Linked DNA regions of Homo sapiens: all the other regions are linked to region 3. The links are contacts of gene promoters, found by promoter capture Hi-C in blood cells and fetal thymus (Javierre and others, 2016). All regions are on one chromosome and are shown on one strand. The core of a region is centred on a gene start or on the middle of the fragment in contact, and the rest is flanking DNA. Distances in the headings are between cores, read along the strand shown.

The links. Contacts are between HindIII fragments. The CHiCAGO score rates a contact against its expected background, and 5 or more counts as called.
Region 1: a fragment that was not itself captured here is called in contact with the fragment with the promoter of ATP6V0B in region 3 in 1 of 17 cell types (fetal thymus); the score reaches 5.5 in fetal thymus.
Region 2: a contact is called between a fragment that was not itself captured here and the fragment with the promoter of ATP6V0B in region 3, in 8 of 17 cell types (fetal thymus, total CD8 T cells, total B cells and 5 more). The highest score is 16.0, in fetal thymus.
Region 4: a contact is called between a fragment that was not itself captured here and the fragment with the promoter of ATP6V0B in region 3, in 1 of 17 cell types (fetal thymus). The highest score is 6.2, in fetal thymus.

The regions. Positions count from the first base shown.
Region 1 is chr1:43,453,480-43,457,631 of GRCh38, forward strand. It overlaps SZT2 (SZT2 subunit of KICSTOR complex), which reads left to right. Exons shown (of 72, transcript NM_001365999.1): 72 at 1-768. HYI-AS1 (HYI antisense RNA 1) reads left to right here and starts at 448. Exons shown (of 2, transcript NR_174945.1): 1 at 448-574; 2 at 3,099-3,520. It overlaps HYI (hydroxypyruvate isomerase (putative)), which reads right to left and starts at 452. Exons shown (of 8, transcript NM_001190880.3): 1 at 116-452; 2 at 1-18. The coding sequence starts at 314. RefSeq lists silencers at 19-78, 189-488. The HindIII fragment of the contact is 279 bases long and covers 1,766-2,044 here.
Region 2 is chr1:43,354,980-43,359,595 of GRCh38, forward strand. It overlaps CDC20 (cell division cycle 20), which reads left to right and starts at 4,002. Exons shown (of 11, transcript NM_001255.3): 1 at 4,002-4,027; 2 at 4,188-4,417; 3 at 4,511-4,616. The coding sequence starts at 4,237. It overlaps CDC20-DT (CDC20 divergent transcript), which reads right to left and starts at 3,694. Exons shown (of 4, transcript NR_183650.1): 1 at 3,571-3,694; 2 at 3,063-3,129; 3 at 2,824-2,921; 4 at 1-27. RefSeq lists enhancers at 2,771-3,279, 3,391-3,450, 3,790-4,298 and silencers at 3,741-3,850, 4,041-4,190. The HindIII fragment of the contact is 210 bases long and covers 3,262-3,471 here.
Region 3 is chr1:43,973,264-43,977,233 of GRCh38, forward strand. It overlaps ATP6V0B (ATPase H+ transporting V0 subunit b), which reads left to right and starts at 1,697. Exons shown (of 8, transcript NM_004047.5): 1 at 1,697-1,844; 2 at 2,537-2,585; 3 at 2,827-2,910; 4 at 3,039-3,116; 5 at 3,327-3,396; 6 at 3,510-3,561; 7 at 3,763-3,953. The coding sequence starts at 1,778. It overlaps LOC124904167 (a long non-coding RNA gene), which reads right to left and starts at 1,602. Exons shown (of 2, transcript XR_007066053.1): 1 at 1,180-1,602; 2 at 102-624. DPH2 (diphthamide biosynthesis 2) reads left to right here. Exons shown (of 6, transcript NM_001384.5): 6 at 1-106. RefSeq lists enhancers at 850-1,683, 1,266-1,385, 1,436-1,485, 1,684-2,516 and silencers at 1,736-1,785, 2,186-2,235. The HindIII fragment of the contact is 1,435 bases long and covers 1,183-2,617 here.
Region 4 is chr1:44,635,014-44,639,553 of GRCh38, forward strand. It overlaps RNF220 (ring finger protein 220), which reads left to right. Exons shown (of 15, transcript NM_018150.4): 7 at 532-575; 8 at 1,017-1,149. LOC107984950 (a long non-coding RNA gene) reads right to left here. Exons shown (of 2, transcript XR_001738031.2): 2 at 225-1,444. Among named protein-coding and RNA genes, the nearest start is that of SNORD145, 34 kb to the right of the region's middle. The HindIII fragment of the contact is 4,145 bases long and covers 1-3,563 here.

The DNA of each region.
Region 1 (4,152 bases), core at 655-3,154, 520 kb before region 3:
CCCCCTTCTCTTGGTCTCCTGCAGAGAGAACGGGCCTCAGCCCCCGGCTCGGACACTCCCCTGCCCGCGCCCCGGCACCCCCCAGCCCTCCCAGCCCTCCCGGCCCGCGACGCACCCGGGGGCGTGTTGATCAGTACAAGCCGCAGCCCCGCTTCTCGCGCGGCGCGCGCCAGCGCCTCAGGCGTCTCCGCGTACGGCCAGGCCACCTCGACGGCCTCGAAGCCCGAGCTGCCCGCGGCCCGCACCCGCGCGGGGAGGCCGGAGAGCTCGGGGAATAGCCAGGACAGATTGGCGGAGAAGCGCAGCGGCGCCATGCCTGGGGAGGCCGGGCCGGGCGGAGTCCGCGGGATCCAAAGGCGGCGGGCGGCGGGCGGCGGGCGGCGGGCGGGGGCGGGGCTCTCCTTGCTGGCCCTGCGAACGAACGAGCACTGTTCGTGGTTAGAAAAGCGAAGTGCTGTAAAAACCCGGGCCTTCACGAAAAGCGCCTACGGTTAGCGAGAGAGGGATCACGGGGAGAGGCGAAGGGGCGGAGCGAGGGCGGCCGGAAAAGGAGCAGGACCCGCGCCTGGAGAAGGTAGGGAGGCCGAGCTCCAGGGCCTGAGAGCCGGACGCGAAGCAAGAGAGAGCTGGCTGCCCGAGGGCCCGGTTGCAATGATGGGACGCGCACTTTAATACTGAGTCTTTCCTCTGATTATAAAAATGCTATCTGTTCGTTAAGCAACATTTGAAAGCTGTATGACCAAATAAAGAAGCACTTTTATACCGCCAGTTATCACACCACTAGCCTGTTGGCTTTCCCGTCCAAATTTTAAAATATGCAATTTTTTTCTTTGGAAATTCTGATCATTCGGTATATGCTGTTTTATAGCTCTTTTTCATGGAATATTATTTTGTGAGCATTTCCTCGTGTTTTCCAATAGCCTTCAAAGTCAGTGCCTTCGCTGCTCATTGTCGCACACCTAAGCAGCAAGTCATTATTGTACTTTGTGGTTGGATATCGTGTGTGTGCACGCGCGCTGCAAGCGCACTTTCAGGCACTTCTTAGTCCCTATCTCTGACTCTTTTCCGAGTCTTTTTCTAGAGATGTCCATCACAGTGTTTGCCCGTTCACGCCGCTAGTCTTTTGCAAGGGAAACCGCCCCATTGGAGCAGCTATGGGTGAGCTGTCCCTTTTTAGCCTTAGCCTCAGCTGATTGGACCAGGGAGGTCATCTGATCCCAGGGCAGCCAATCCATAGACTGGCCAAAAACCTCTTACTTGCGTCGTTTGGAAAGGTAATTTAACCAATCAAGAGTTCAAACAAGGAAATGCTGAGAGTCAACAGGTGGTGTTGCCAGAAGGTGACTGGGCTGTAGAAACGAAATAAGACAGTCCTATGGTAAAGAAAAGCTAGAGCGGAAAGGAGGGGAACCAAGTCCTGTGAATAGAGGTAGCACCCTGAGAAACCCATGTCATCCCAAGGGTGCCCAAACCCATAGCTGCCCCCAGGTCTGTGCACTTAAGGCTGGGATGCTTAGACTTTCCTGGGTTTCTGTCTCTGTATAGCCTCTTAATGTTTCTTGAGATAATTTGAATGATTTTACTTTCATCTACAATAACCCAACTGATTGGGCAGGTTCTTATGGGTAGAATTACATGGTCAAAAATAGGAACATATTTAAGTTGTTGATATCTTAAATTTCCTTTGAAAAATATAAATTTATATCCCAACAATTCATGAGTAAACGTCATCTTGATCTATCGTCTGTGCTAACTTTGACAGAGAAGCTTAAAGTGCAACATTAGGAACACCCAGCTCCCACTGATTGTTCTGTCAACACTCAACTCCATCTCAAATGAGGCCAGCTCAGACACCAGGGATCCAGCCTGATCCCGTGGTGAACCCAAATTCTTGGCAGGTTCTGTTTCTTCAGCTCTGCCTCCAAGAACAGACTGCTGCCAGCTGACACTGATCACCTGATTTCATGCTCTTTTGCAGCTGGTTTTACACTAGGACCTTTGCCTTGTCTTGGAACGTGTTTCTCGTCCAATCAAGACCTCACTAAGCTTAACATTGTAATCAGTCCCAACTTTAGTGTGTTTGCAATCCAAAATTGACAACAAAGAGTAACATCTAGAGGAAGTAATTCCTTTATTACCACCTCACTGTTGATCTCCGAGTATGCAAATTCTATTTATGATGTTGACAGCTGCTGAGCTCTGCGTCAGAAACAAAATGTGTCCAACTCCCGATTGTCCACCCCTTTTTTCCTTGGACATGCCTTAGGGCAGTAAAGATTATACATAAACTAGACATAGGTGACTCACTTTCCCCTTAATTCCCTTACAACACCTTCCACCTTCACATAATATGCTCAAATAAATATATAAGGAGTGCAATGTCCATGAAAATTATTTGCTTTATTCACCTTTGACTATGTCTTATCCCACCTTGCAACACAGGCATGACACTAAGTTATCACAAGTTTTGATTCTTTGCATTTGCCTTTTTTTTTTGCTTTATTGTGCACACTTCACAGGTACGTATTTGACTTTTAACCAAATAATTTGCACAGGTGTGATTTTAAAGTAACAACAACTTGTAAATAGTTGCATGGATAATGGCAAAAACTTTAGTACAGAGTTCAGAGTCTCATTTGATCATTGGATAACATTTGGCAATGCAGTAAAACATATTACAACTCATGTGAAATGCAAATCAAAACCTCAATGAAATTCTATTTTATGCCTTCCACATTGGCAAAAATAAAAAACACATTATCAAATATTGGATAGGATTTGGAACAACTGCCAACAGGAGTGTAAATCACTATAACCTCCTTGGAAAACAATTTGGCATTGTCTCTTAAAGCTAATATGCCTATGATCTGACAGTTCCTTTCCCAGGTGTATCCCCTGAAGAAAGTTTTGCACAAGTGTACCAGGAAAGAAGTAAAGTGATGTTCACAGCAGAACTATTTATGTAGCAAAAAGATGGGACTAACCCAAATGTCCATCCATCCATACATAGATGAGTTGTGTAATAGTATAGTCATACCATGTTGTACAAGAGAAAGCTGGTGGCTCAAATGATAACACTGAGTTTGTTCCTGTGTTAGGACAATATATGAAGAGCTTAGTGAAGTTTGATTGGAACTGAAAAACATCAGTATGAAAGCATCAAGTGGATAAATCTCAGAAACATAATCTCTAGAGGAACAAGCAAATCACAGAGAAATACCTACAGTGTGATTCCATTGATATAAAGTCAAAGGCAGGGAAAACCAACAGTATCTTGTGTAGGAATATGGACATCTCTGATAAAACAATGAAGAACAAGTGAATAATTATCACAAAATTCAGCATAATGGTGACCACCTCTAGAGGAGGACAGAAGAGGGTAGCATTGGAGCCTTCTCTTACGTTGGATAGCACATTCATGTATGTTAATTTTACTACTCTTCTTTAGAGCTAACATATATTTTATAAATATCATTTTTTATCTGTCTTATATTTAATAAAAACACATTTTTAAAACCTGTATGCATTACTGCCATCTGTTAGCACATTTGATATTAACATCCTCATTGTGGTATCACTATAATCTCAAGATTTTTCTACAGGTTCAGCTTGTTTGTGTTGTTTGTCTGGTTTGAATTCTAATGATCACTTTTTAGACTCAACTTGTCACTGCTCAGCACAGTGGTCTTTTATTGTATTATCTGTCCAGAACCTGTGGCAGGTAGCGTGTAAAATGGTCCCCAATGGGTCAGAGGGGGTGGCTCACACCTGTAATCCCAGCACTTTGGGAGGCTGAGGCAGGAGGATAACTTGAGCCCAGGAGTTTCAGACCAGCCTTAGCAACCTGGTGAAACCCCATCTCGACAAAAATATAAAAATTGGCCAGGCGTTGTGGCATGTGCGTAGCCCCAGCTACTCCAGAGGCTGAGGTGGGAAGATCACTTGAGTCTGGGGGAGGTCAAGGCTGCAGTGAGCTGTGATTGCACCACTGCACTCCAGCCTGGGTGACAGAGCAAAACCCTGTCACAAGAAACAATAAATAAAATAAAATAAAATAAAATAATAAAATAACCGTTAGCAAGATTAACCAAGAAGAGCGAAAATCCAAATAACCTCACTAAGAAACGAAACAGGAAATATTACAACTGACAC
Region 2 (4,616 bases), core at 2,117-4,616, 620 kb before region 3:
TGCTCTTCCCATTCCAGTCTTGAGTCCCTAGGAGTAAAGTCAGAGCCTTTCATGTGGCTGGGGAGGAATTATGGAGATTGGGTATACTGGATGTCATCCATTTGTCCCACCCAGACCTATTCTCCATCCTTCTCCATCTTGTCCTATGCTTAGCAAGGCTGATTCATATGGCTGGCATCCAAGCATTCTCCTGGGCTTTGGTTTCTGCTTGGGTTCCAACAGTAGGAGGATATTATGGATTGAATTCTATTCCTCTCCTCTCCCTCAAATTCACATGTTAAAGTCCTTTTTTTTTTTTTTTTGGCCGGGCCCGGTGGCACACACCTGAAATCCCAGCTACTTGGGAGGCTGAGGCACAAGAATGACTTGAAACCGGGAGGCAGAGGTTGCAGTGAGCCAAGACCACACCACAAAAAAAGATAAAAGTTTTTTTGTTTTTTTTTTTTTTTTTGAGACAGGGTCTTCACTCTGTCGCCCAGGCTGGAATGCAGTGGTGTGGTCACGGCTCACTGCAGCCTCAAACTCCTGGTCTCAAGCGATCCTCCCACCTCAGCCTCCCAAGTAGCTGGGACTACTGGAATTACAGGTGTGCACCACTAGCTTGGCTAATGTTTTCTGTATTATTATTATTTTTTTTTGAGATGGAATCTTGCTCTGTCGCCCAGGCTGGAGTGCAGTGGCGCGATCTCGGCCTACTGCAAGCTCCACCTCCCGAGTTCACGCCATTCTCCTGCCTCAGCCTCCCGAGTAGCTGAGACTACAGGCGCCCGCCACCATGCCCGGCGAATTTTTTTTATATTTTTCGCAGGACAGGGTTTCACCGCGTTAGCCAGGATGGTCTCGATCTCCTGACCTAGTGATCCGCCCGCCTCAGCCTCCCAAAGTGCTGGGATTACAGGTGTGAGCCACCGCGCAGGCCTGTTTTCTGTATTTTTTTTAGAGACAAGGTGATACTATGTTGCCCAGACTGGTCCCAAACTCATGAGCTCAAGCAATCCTCTGGCCTTGGCCTTCCAAAGTGCTGGGATTACAAGTGTAAGCCACCACACCCAGCCAGATGTTGAAGTCTTAACTCCCAGTACTTCAAATACGACCTTATTAGGAAATAGGGTCATTGCAGATATAATTAGTTAAGATGAGGTCAGGGCCCTAGTTCAATATGATTGGTATTCTTATAAAAAGAGAAAATTGGACACACATACACACAGAAAGAAAGCCAAGTGAAGATGAAGGCAGAGAACAGGGCGATTCTTCTATAAGCCAAGGAATGACAAAGATTGCCGGCAAACCACCACCAGAAGCCAGGAGAGAGGCATGGAACAGATTCTTCCTCACGGTTCTCACACAACTCTCATGACACCTTGATCTGGAACTTCTAACCTCCAGAATTGTGAGACAACCAATTTCTGTCATTTAAGCCAGTTTGTGGTACTTTGTTACAGTAACTCTAGCAAACGAATATAGAGGATATCAGGGGATGGGCTACACAAGTCACCTATACTTGCCGGCTTCCCGTTCTCCCTATTTCATTCTTTCCGCAACTCCTCCAAAATGGATCTCAAGCACCCACTTTCCTGATCCTGCTCTCTCCAAAGTCATCGGTAATTTGATTTTCAATGGCCAAATCTGACCCTTTCTGTCATCATTCCACTTGACTACATATATTAGGGTATCTCCCACTTCAAGATCCATGTCTGGATAATTTCCATTGCCTTCCTTCATTCATTTATTATTATTATTATTTTGAGACAAAGTCTCCCTCTGTCACCCAGGCTAGAGTGCAGTGGCGCGACCTCGCTCACTACAACCTGCGCCTCCCAGGTTCAAGCGATTCCCCTGCCTCAGCCTCCCAGGTAGCTGGGATTACAGGTGTGCACCACCACACCTGGCTAATTTTGTACTTCTAGTAGAGACAGGGTTTCGCCACATTGGCCCGACTAGTCTTGAACTACTGACTTCAAGTGATCTGCCCGCCTTGGCCTCCCAAAGTGCTGGGATTACAGGAGTGAACCATGACAACCTGCCCAAATCCTTTATTTTTAAATGTACAAATTCCCTGAGGCTATACCCTTTATCCTTCTCTATAGCTACCACCAGAAGTTGCAAATTATTGCCATATCCCCCCCCTCAGATGTTTTATTTGGTCCTTCCCTACACAGAAACCCCACAGGTACCACAATGCCTAGCAGATGAAGTCCAAAGTCTTTAGCTTAACATTTAAGACCCTGACCAACTTGACATGAGACAACCTTTTCTATGTTTTCTGGGAATTCCCCACCTCTAACCTAAGCATATCCAATTCCTTATTTTCCAAGGTAATTGGAAATAGAGAATGCAAAGGCTTCAAGTCAAAGATAATAACATTATCTGTAAGCATCGGAGTGGACTTTAAGCTAATGACTGAAAATGATTTTTCCAGCCTCTTTCTGGGACAGTATAGCGTATTGTTTAGATTGCAGGGATTAGTCAGATAGTTTGAATCCTGGGCTCCCCTACTTATTATTGGCTGCATGCCTTTGGGCAAGTTTCTAATCTTTCTGACCCAGTTTCTTTTTTCTGTAAAGGGAAGATGGGGTATCTATCTGCCTTATGGGATTAAGGATTGAACTCGATAATGTATGTAAACTTTTTTTTTTTTTTTCAGACAGAGTATCGCTCTGTTGCCCAGGCTGGAGTGCAGTGGCTCGATCTCGGCTCACTGCAAGCTCCGCCTCCCGGGTTCACGCCATTCTCCTGCCTCAGCCTCTCGAGTAGCTGGAACTACAGGCGCCCGCCACCAAGCCCGGCTAATTTTTTGTATTTTTAGTAAAGACGGGGTTTCACCGTGTTAGCCAGGATGGTCTCGATCTTCTGACTTCGTGATCTGCCCGCCTCGGCCTCCCAAAGTGCTGGGATTACAAGCGTGAGCCACCGCGCATGGCCTGTAAATTGTTTTAACACAGTAGTTAGATGGTCCATAAATGGTACCATTATTACTTTTATGATTGCTGCTCCACCTCTGAGCACATTCATACAATTCACTCAAGTCATTATTAGAGCACTAGATTGAGTGCGAGTCAGACCTGGATTCCCACAAACTTCTTTGTATGACCTCGGGCACATCCCTTCCCTGGGCCTCCGTTTCTCCATCTGTAAAATATGGATTTGTTGTCGGGGTGGGGAGGCTGCACCACGCACAGGTTAGACTAATGGATCTCTAAGGTCCTCACATCTTTAAAGCCCCAAGGGGATAAGCCACAGTGCCTCCTGTAGGGCAGTCTAAGCTTATCTTCCAGATAGGCAGGTTTGAATACCGATCCTTTTTCTTGACCTTAAGGAATTCATTCACCCTTTTCAACCTCATTTTCCCTGTTTGTAAAACAACAGCAAACGAGACAAACACACGTTACTTCCTTTCTAGCAGGGTTCCTACCCGGCGCCAAGCAAAAGTGGAATGTACCCTAAGTAGCTCTGGCCTTCTTCCTGCTCCCAAGCTTCCCAATTCCGTCCCCTGCCCCGCTGCCGCCCGCGGCTCTCCTTCCCCTTCTAGGAACGGCTCAAGCGCCTTGGGCACTCCATCGGGTTCTGCACCGAGTTCTGCATCATAAATACGACTCTCGTGTAGGATTTAAGTGTGAACTTCTGCAGGTTCTCGGACCCTGAAGCACCCGGGGCCAGACATTCCGAGCTCGCGGCGGTGGAAGGCACGCAAAAGGGCGAACCGAGACGACTCCAGGACGCTGAGGCAGCGCAGGCCCCACCCGGCCCCGCCCTGCCCCGCCCTGTCCCGGCCGGCTTTCCAGTACTAGTCCTCTGGCGCCGGCTCCCAGCCCCTCTCGTACCCTTCAAATCGCGCTCCGCCGCTAGACTCTCGTGATAGCTGAGACTTTCCCCGGAAGGCCCGCCCCCTTCGCCGGAGAGGCCAATGGGCTAGGGCAACGGTTGCGACGGTTGGATTTTGAAGGAGCCAATAGGCGCTCGGAGCGGAGAGTTTAAGAGGCGTAAGCCAGGCGTGTTAAAGCCGGTCGGAACTGCTCCGGAGGGCACGGTGAGAGGTGGTGGGGCTGAGCCGAGGTGGGGCCGTGGCCAGGGGGAGGGGGTGCTAGGCCGGAAGGGGCTGCAGCCGAGGGTGGCCCTGATTTTGTGGCCGGCCAGGAGCGAAGGGGTCCCTTTCTGTCCCCTGAGCACCGTCGCCTCCTTTCCTCCAGGGCTCCGTAGGCACCAACTGCAAGGACCCCTCCCCCTGCGGGCGCTCCCATGGCACAGTTCGCGTTCGAGAGTGACCTGCACTCGCTGCTTCAGCTGGATGCACCCATCCCCAATGCACCCCCTGCGCGCTGGCAGCGCAAAGCCAAGGAAGCCGCAGGCCCGGCCCCCTCACCCATGCGGGCCGCCAACCGATCCCACAGCGCCGGCAGGACTCCGGGCCGAACTCCTGGTCAGTGAGGTGCCAAAGGAACTGAGTGAGAGCAGCCTTCATACTTTCTCCCTGGGGAGCCTGGTCAGACTGTCTTCTCTTTCTCCGCCCCAGGCAAATCCAGTTCCAAGGTTCAGACCACTCCTAGCAAACCTGGCGGTGACCGCTATATCCCCCATCGCAGTGCTGCCCAGATGGAGGTGGCCAGCTTCCTCCTGAG
Region 3 (3,970 bases), core at 447-2,946:
ATATGCCATCATGGCAGAAAGTTCTATTGGTTGGACAGCGTTGGTCTATACTGACTCTTATTTCTCAGGGAGATCACAGCAACCTAAATAAACCAGATACCTTTTCTCTTTGTGTTTCTTTTTAATTCATGAAATACTGCAGGTCCTGCACTGGTCCTGGGATGTAGATGTTAACTGTATTTAACCAGATTCCTTTCCAGTGTACCTGGAAAGAGAGTTAAATACGCAGTCAGTACACAGTGAAACAGCTCTATCTGGGAGGAGGGAAGCCCCAGGGACAGCTGGATCCCACAGGAGATACCTGACAAGGACTAAGAGGAGGCTTCCCAGAGGGCATAACACCTATGCTGGATCTTTTGGAGGAAAAAATAATTGTCAGGAGAAAAGGAGTGAAAAAGACCTTTGGGCTTAAACATGAACCAACATGGCGGATGCTTCAAGCAAGTGGGGTTGCTGGGCCCTAAAGGTGGAGAGGGGTGAAATGAAAAGACTCGCCTCTTCTTCCCCACATTTGTTGAGAATCTGGTCACAGTGGCATTGTCGAGGGTATTGAAGGTGAACAAAGGAGATGTGGTCCCTGCCCTCAGGGAATGCCTAGTCTAATGGTGGAGGCAGAGCTGTAAGCTAACAAGGTAACCCAGACAAAGTGGGCATCAGTCATGTGTTCTACAAATATGTACTGAGGACACACTCTGTGCCAGGTACTGGAAATACAGCAGTGAGCGACACAAAAGCCATGGTGCTTCCACTCTTCCAGGGGAGTTGGACAAATAAAATACTTAGTATGCCAAATGGTGATCAGTAAGTACCGTGAGAAATGTAAAGCTGGGAAGCAGAGGAGCGTTTAAGTGGGGTGGAATATTAAACAGAATGGTCAGAGAAGGCCTTTTCAAGAAGGTGAGCAAAAACTGAAAGGAAGTTACAGGATGAGCCGCATGTATAGTTAGGAGAAGCAGAGAGAGCAAGTGCAAGGGCAGTGAGGTCGCGGTATGGTTGGCACGTTCAAAGAAATAGCAAGGAGGGCAGTGCAGCCAGAGGAGGGAGTTAGTGGGGGAATATTAGAAGGTGAAGTCAGCTGAGGGGCGTGGGGAGCCTAGCAGGCTATTGTGAGAACTTTGGCTTTTCTCCTGAATGAAATGGGAGCCATCAGGGCATTTCGACAGGGTAGTGACATCTTACTGAAGCTTAATAAGCATCACCAGGACATCGCGGGAGCCCAGCAAACGCGCTTCCCTGCCACTGGGTTAGGGAAGGCTTGCCGGAAGGACGATTTCGGAGGACAGCAGGTGTTAGCCAGGCAGCGGAGCGAGCGCCAACAGGCGCACTGGGGCGGAGAGACGCCGTGAGCAAGGTGAGGCAGAGGGCACGCGCGGCGCCACCCGCCACAGGCTAGGACGCACGGCTGCCAGAGAGGACGCCTTAGGGGCCCGCGAGCAGGCTCGGGAATAAAACAGGGCTGGCAGGGCGAGGTGGAGAGACTCGAGAAGGACCGGCCAGATGTCGAAGTTCCTAGAGAGGAGGGCGCCCAAGCCTCCGCCGAGACGCGTGACTACAACTACCACAATCCCCAGCGCCTGCGGTTCCAGCGTCGCCTTGCTCTAGACGGGCGGCGGCGCTGCGCGGGGAACCGGCGTGGGGTCACGTGGTACCGGCGCATCACGTGGGCGAGTTAGGTGACGCTGCGGGGCGGGCGGACAGACTGCGGGACGGACGGTGGACGCTGGGACGCGTTTGTAGCTCCGGCCCCGCCGTTCCGACCCCCGCCGCCGTCGCCGCCATGACGGGGCTAGCACTGCTCTACTCCGGGGTCTTCGTGGCCTTCTGGGCCTGCGCGCTGGCCGTGGGTGAGGCCGGGTCCTGGCGGGCGGGAGCAGCATCGCGGCCGAGCTGGCCGGGTCGGAACTCGGCGGGGAAGTGGCCTGCGGGGAATACTGGCCCCCCGCGCGCTCTGCACCCGAGGCTCTGGGGACTTGCGCCTGCGAGGGCCTCTGACTCCGACAAAGGAGACCCGGATTTCCAGCTGCTTGAGGAGGGGTGCGGGCGGGTAGGGGCCGCGAGGGCAGCACTCCCCCGTCCTGCCACTATCGCTGTCTCCCCTCGCTCCCACGTCTCACTGCTGTCCCCCCTTTCTTGCTCCTGACCGGCCCGCTCGGTCACAAGCCGGCTGCTCCGGTTCCTCTTTTCCCAGTCGCTTTGCCCTCCCCCACCCACAGCTTGTTGGGTAAACAGCGGAACGGACTGGGCCGGCGGGATCTGGCTGGAGCGCTTGCTCCCTCGGTCCCGCCTCGGATTCGGGCTTGCGGGTGGCGACCCTGCCTGCGCAGGTGCTTGGTCTGGGAGGTGGTTTTAGCGAGGGAATGGCAGAAAATGGAGGCCTAAGCAGAGGAATCTGTCTACACAGCTGTACTGTCACCTGGGGGCAGCCTGAGGACGCCCCTTCAGGGAGGTGGCCCTTCAGCTCGGCAGCTACTTTAGGTTGAAGAACTTCTCTCTACCGAGCAGCCCGTAACCCCCTTTTTCTCCCTCACTGCTGCAGGAGTCTGCTACACCATTTTTGATTTGGGCTTCCGCTTTGATGTGGCATGGTAAGGGAGGGCAGGGGGAGGATTCCCCTTGAAGCTTCTTCCCTGCAGCCTCTCTTCTTTTCTCTGGTCTGAGTCCCTCCCCCACACCACTGCCTGCCTGGGACATGGACCTTTGGGAAATACGCGGTCAGTTGTTGCCTGTAGAACTGGTGGTGGGGTTGAAGGGGGTTTGAGGGGTTAAGATTTTGTGCTCCGCTTCCCTGCTAGAGCTGAACTGCTTTCTTCTCTGCTTCCACAACAGGTTCCTGACGGAGACTTCGCCCTTCATGTGGTCCAACCTGGGCATTGGCCTAGCTATCTCCCTGTCTGTGGTTGGGGCAGCCTGGTGAGTATTGGGGTGGTGGGACTGGGGGCAGGGGCTGAGTCATGGCAGGTGGTGTCACTGGGGTCTTAGGCATGCTGAGGGCAGTGACAGCTTGGGCTCTGCTCATCAGTTTTTTATCCTTCCACCAGGGGCATCTATATTACCGGCTCCTCCATCATTGGTGGAGGAGTGAAGGCCCCCAGGATCAAGACCAAGAACCTGGTCAGGTAAGTGTCAGGGTCCTTGGACTTTTGTCAGAACCAGCTGTGTTGGCGCTGCCTGTGTGTTTGATCTGACATACTGTTTCTGACAAGCCACCTTGTGGGATGGGATGTTATAGGGGAAAGATTGCTGGGGACTTACTGGGCAGGAAGGACGGTTTCTTTCTCATTTCTTTCTCCTTTCCACTCCTTACCCCTAATCTCTACCACTACCAGCATCATCTTCTGTGAGGCTGTGGCCATCTACGGCATCATCATGGCAATTGTCATTAGCAACATGGCTGAGGTATGGAAGGCCAGGGTGGTGGCGGGAATCCATTCCAGTGTGTTCTACACATTCCTTAGAGATTGGATGGGGTGCATCAGGATGGTTTCTGATTACTTTTCTTCTTCCCTCAGCCTTTCAGTGCCACAGACCCCAAGGCCATCGGCCATCGGAACTACCATGCAGGTGGGTGGATGGGCGTATGAATGCAAAATGCTGGGACTTCATGCCTGCTTCCACTCTCCCCCATCCCAGCTTGGGCCATCATTTTGATATTCTCTCACCTACTTTTTCTGCTTTGCAGAGTGGGGATGGTGATTGGCCCCATTAGCCCATATCTCCCCCATTCCTGGCTTAGCCTCACTGCACCCCTCTCTATCCTCCCAGGCTACTCCATGTTTGGGGCTGGCCTCACCGTAGGCCTGTCTAACCTCTTCTGTGGAGTCTGCGTGGGCATCGTGGGCAGTGGGGCTGCCCTGGCCGATGCTCAGAACCCCAGCCTCTTTGTAAAGATTCTCATCGTGGAGATCTTTGGCAGCGCCATTGGCCTCTTTGGGGTCATCGTCGCAATTCTTCAGGTGATGAATCCCCTTGG
Region 4 (4,540 bases), core at 241-2,740, 660 kb after region 3:
GAGAAATTCTTCCTGATAAGATTCTAGGTGGGATGCTAGGAGCTGTACCTCAGGGCTCTTGGCCCAGGAACCAAAGAGGATTTAGCTGATGAGTGAACAGCAGGCCAAGTCAGGCCATCGGAGGGGTTAGGTTCTAGTCAAGAGATGCTCTTTAGAGTTGTATTTCCTGACACCAAAAGAGTTCATGGTCTTGGCCTTCTGGAGAGATACCTAGCAACATGGAGTGTCTTTGCTCACTGGATTTTTATTAAACACTGCAAATAGAAAGGTATGGGTAGACCTTGCACCAGCTGCAGCCAAAGAGTGGACTTACTCACTGGCTTAGTTAGCACCAGTCTCCTCCCCAGGTGCTCTTGGCAAAGCCCAGTCCCCAAAGGAGCAGGAGGTATTTCAAGATGAGGGCCAGATCAGGCACTGAATAAAAAGGCCAATGGCTGGCAAGAGGTCAGGATGTGTCAGCTCCACTGGGACCCTGGGGGCTGCAGTGACCGTCTGCTTGTTCTGTGCTTTGTTTTCGGTTTCCCCGTGCAGCTCGGATTGGGAAAATGAAACGGAGGAAGCAAGATGAAGGGCAGGTATGTCCCCTGTGCAACCGCCCCCTGGCAGGATCGGAGCAGGAGATGAGTAGGCATGTGGAGCATTGCCTTTCTAAGGTAGAGGGGCCATCACCACCCACCTTCCTTCCCCGCTCCCTTCCCCCGACACTAGCTGCTGACTGCCCCTGAATCTGTGGGCTCTTGGGGTCTCCATGTGGTCTCAGCAGCTTCTTCCCTTCTGACCACTGCTCTCTCCTTTTGCTTTCACTCTCACTCATTCCCTCCTTGGGCTCCAGCGGAAAACTATTGGGAAGAGGCCCAGGTCTTTGACCTCTAAATTGGTTTGCTTCAAAGGAGCCCTAGAGCTGAGGGCCCACTTGGCACACCACAGCTGGGGCTAGAGCTGTGCCTTCGTTGCAGACTGTGGGGAGCAGGTGGGGATGGCCTGGGCCCAGCATGATCCTGCTCTGCTCTTCACAGAGGGAAGGCTCCTGCATGGCTGAGGATGATGCTGTGGACATCGAGCATGAGAACAACAACCGCTTTGAGGAGTATGAGTGGTGTGGACAGAAGCGGATACGGGCCACCACTCTCCTGGAAGGTGGCTTCCGAGGTACAAGCAGCTGACACGTAGACATTGGCACTCTGGTGCCAGGCCTCTGCTGGGTATCCATCTGCTGGAAGCCAAGAGGCCGAGGCTGGTGGCTGGTCATCCATCCGTTCCACCACGTGGGGACTGCTGCTGGTGGGGCTCCTTTGTGACCGTGCTGCCTGCCTGTGATGTGCATATTAAAATGGATGTATTTGGGTGGGGAAATGGAATTGTGAGGCTGCAAGCTAGGAGTGACGAAGGGGGGCTCTCAGCTTCGGGTGATGCATTGAAGGTGACAGCCAAGCCGCGTTAGCACCTGCATAAAATATTAAAGGGACGGTTATGCATTTATCACTCCATCCCTCTTAAGGCTGATAAATGAGAATCCAGCAACCTGCTGTACACCTCCAGCACTGGGGGCCCTGAGGGCTTCCAGGCAAACACATTGGATTTTCCTCCTCCTCCTCTTCAGCCCTATGTCAGGGAAATCAGTTACAGAGGAGAGTGAGTTATGGCAAAATTTGACCTCCCATGAGCTTCATTGGTGAATCTAATTTTAGCTCTGATCCCATCCCTTCTCCCTGGGCGCCCTCTGCCCTGAAGCAAGAGGGGCCTGGGCCCAGCTGCTCCCTCCTTCCCTTGGGCTCTCCCCAGTTGCTACAAAGGAGTGTGCAGGGCCCTGCCCATCTCCAGTGCCCTCCCAGCTCCTTGGAAGAGCAAGGCTTGACACCCCCCACCAGGTCAGACAGCAGAATTGGTTGGGTGCCCAGGGTTAGTGACTTGTTAAACTCCCCAGCCTTGGGCAGGGGAAAAGGGGAGCTGTCTGCCTCTTGGCCTCCAGCTCTTCTCTCTTTCTGTGCACAAGCACAGCTGGTACTGCAGCTTGTGGTCATTAAGTGAGCCAATCTGCTTCCCGTCTGCCTCTCTCTCTGGGCAACACCTTTGGGAATACTGCTGTGTATGGTCCCTGGGGAATCTCACAGCAGCTGGGAAGAAGTTCTCTGCCTTCGTGGGGCCGTGCTACCTGGGCAGATGCTGAGGAGTGGTCTCTGCAGGGCCGTCCAGTGCAGACTGGTTCCACGAAGGGGCTAAGAGCCCAGATGAGACATTATGCCTCTGGGCGTCTCTCACATTACCCAGGTGTTTGGGGGCAAGCCAAAACATAAATCAGGAAGGTTAGTCAGACCAAACAGTCTCCCTGAGCCGGAGCTGGAGAGTGTTAGTTTGCCATTTCACTCATCCCGTACTGGAGCCTTCGAGTATCTGAGGCCCTAGAAGAGTGAGCAGCAGGGCTGACGACTGTCCCATGAGTTGGACACATGGGTGTCCGATGGCAGCCACACAGGGTCAGTTTCAACGTGCTGCTCTGGTTAGCTCTGTTGGCAGCTGCAACTGCTCACATCCTCCATTGCTGTGGCACCTTCTTAGGTTCCTTGGCACAGACCTGGACCTGATGGCTTCTGGGCACCAGACAGGGCTTATGGAGGATAAAGCTGCAAAGGGCCTGCTGATTTGACAAGAGTATTTCCCCTGTGCCGGGATGCACTTGCACAGCAGTGTGAGGGGCTCTTAGGCCCCGGGCGGGTATCCGTTTTCCCTGAGTGTTTACACTGTGAGGTTGTTCCTTTCAAGAATTCCTGAGGGGAGTTCAAAGGGGGCTTTTCTTTGAGCGATTTGGAGAGCGAGAATGAGAGTGAGACTTGAAGAGGGAACAGGGGCCGGAGGTGCCTTTATCTGCAGAGAATTGCTCCAGCTTTCCTGATAGAAGCTGCTGCCGCCTCTTAAACAGCTTAGTGCAGTCAAAAGACAGGCAGACTTGAAAGGCTGTTTTACAGCGAGATCAGCGGGGGCCACGAGGCAGAGAGCGGGGCGCAGTGGAGCGGAGGAGGCTGAGGCTCCTCAGTGGGGGGGCTATCAAAGGGAGGCCCTGGCTGATCCCTACTGCCTCTGCCCCCAAAACCCTGTCTGCAAAAGCTGGCCATCTGTCAGCCTACCCTCCCTGGCCAGGACTGATAGGCCCTAACTCTTGGGGGGTTGGGTGTGGCCTCGCCAGGCGGGCTGGTGTCAGTGCAGCGCATTGATCGCCCGCCGGGCGGGCCGGGCTGCAAGCCGGGCAGCGCGTGCTTAATGTGATTGAAAGGCAGTTAAAATGGCGGTGACCTTTTCAGGAGGAATTAGATTGCCTGCCAAGACCGGTTAGAGGGAGTGATAACGCCAGCTGAAGAAGCTGCCCAGCAGACTTCAGAGAGAAGGAGGCAGAGGCAGGATGAGCAGGCGAGTGGCGAGGCCCATTTAAACTGCGCTGTGCGTGCTGACAGAACAGAGATTGCTGTCGTTGTTAGATATGAAAGAAGTGAAGAATTGCAGATAAGTTCCTGTATCCGATCACCCCCATCCCTCCTCCCAGAGTAGGGCCTCTTCTTCATCCTCAGCAAAGCTTCCCACCAGGCCCCTGGAGGTTGGTCTGATGGATCAGATCGGTTACCTCAAATGTAATCTGCTGTGGGAAGCAGTGAACGGGCAAGAGTTTCGGTGGAGACACTTGGCTGAGGGCAACAGGCCTTAGAGATGGGGACCTGTGGTTACTGAGGAGGAGCTCCAGATATCTCAGGCCTGGGAGTACTCGGATTGATATTTTAGGACAAAATAAAGAAGCAGACAGAGCAGGTGAGCACTGAGGTAGGTCCCACTGGAAACAGATTTTTGAAAAGACTAAAGGAAATAGGTATTACTTCAAGAAAGTAAGTTGGAAGGAATTTTTGCTGCCTAGGAGGCACTCTGACCTTCCCAATTCTAGAAGAAATACTTAAGCTGTGTGTCTAAGTTGTTGATTGTCCTTTCAGAACCATAGATTTTCTAACCTGCTACTGCTCTTTACATAAAGGACAGCACACAGAGCCTAGTGCGCCACCAACATTCCACTAAAAGAGATCCGCAGTTAGGGAGAAAAGATGTTTTTCTTGGGTACCATGCCAAACCTGGGCAGAGCAAGGGGCTTCTAGGCTAGAGAAGCAGACTACAGGGGAACCTAACTATACAGCCCTTAAGACAAGCCTGCTTCCACCTGTAGTCTAAGGAGGTGTGTGACTAAGGAGCCATGCCTTTCCTCTCCTGTCCTCCATCCAGCTCCTGGATCCTGGAGAAGAGACCTATAGTGGTGAACCATGGTCCCTCCTGTGTGTTGGTTGCCAGTGAGAGTTCACCCAACTGCATTGGGGAGCCCAGAGCTCCTCACATCTGGAAGGGACATGCTGGAAAGAGGACATGGGAATGATTGGTTTCAAATAAGGTGGCAATGATGTGGGCACAAGAGTGGTGAGATGGAGAAATTTCCCAGGAAGCTTCACAGGAAATGGAAGCCTGCAGCTGTATCTTTAAGCCCTGGCGGTGACTGCGTTGCTAAAATCCAGCA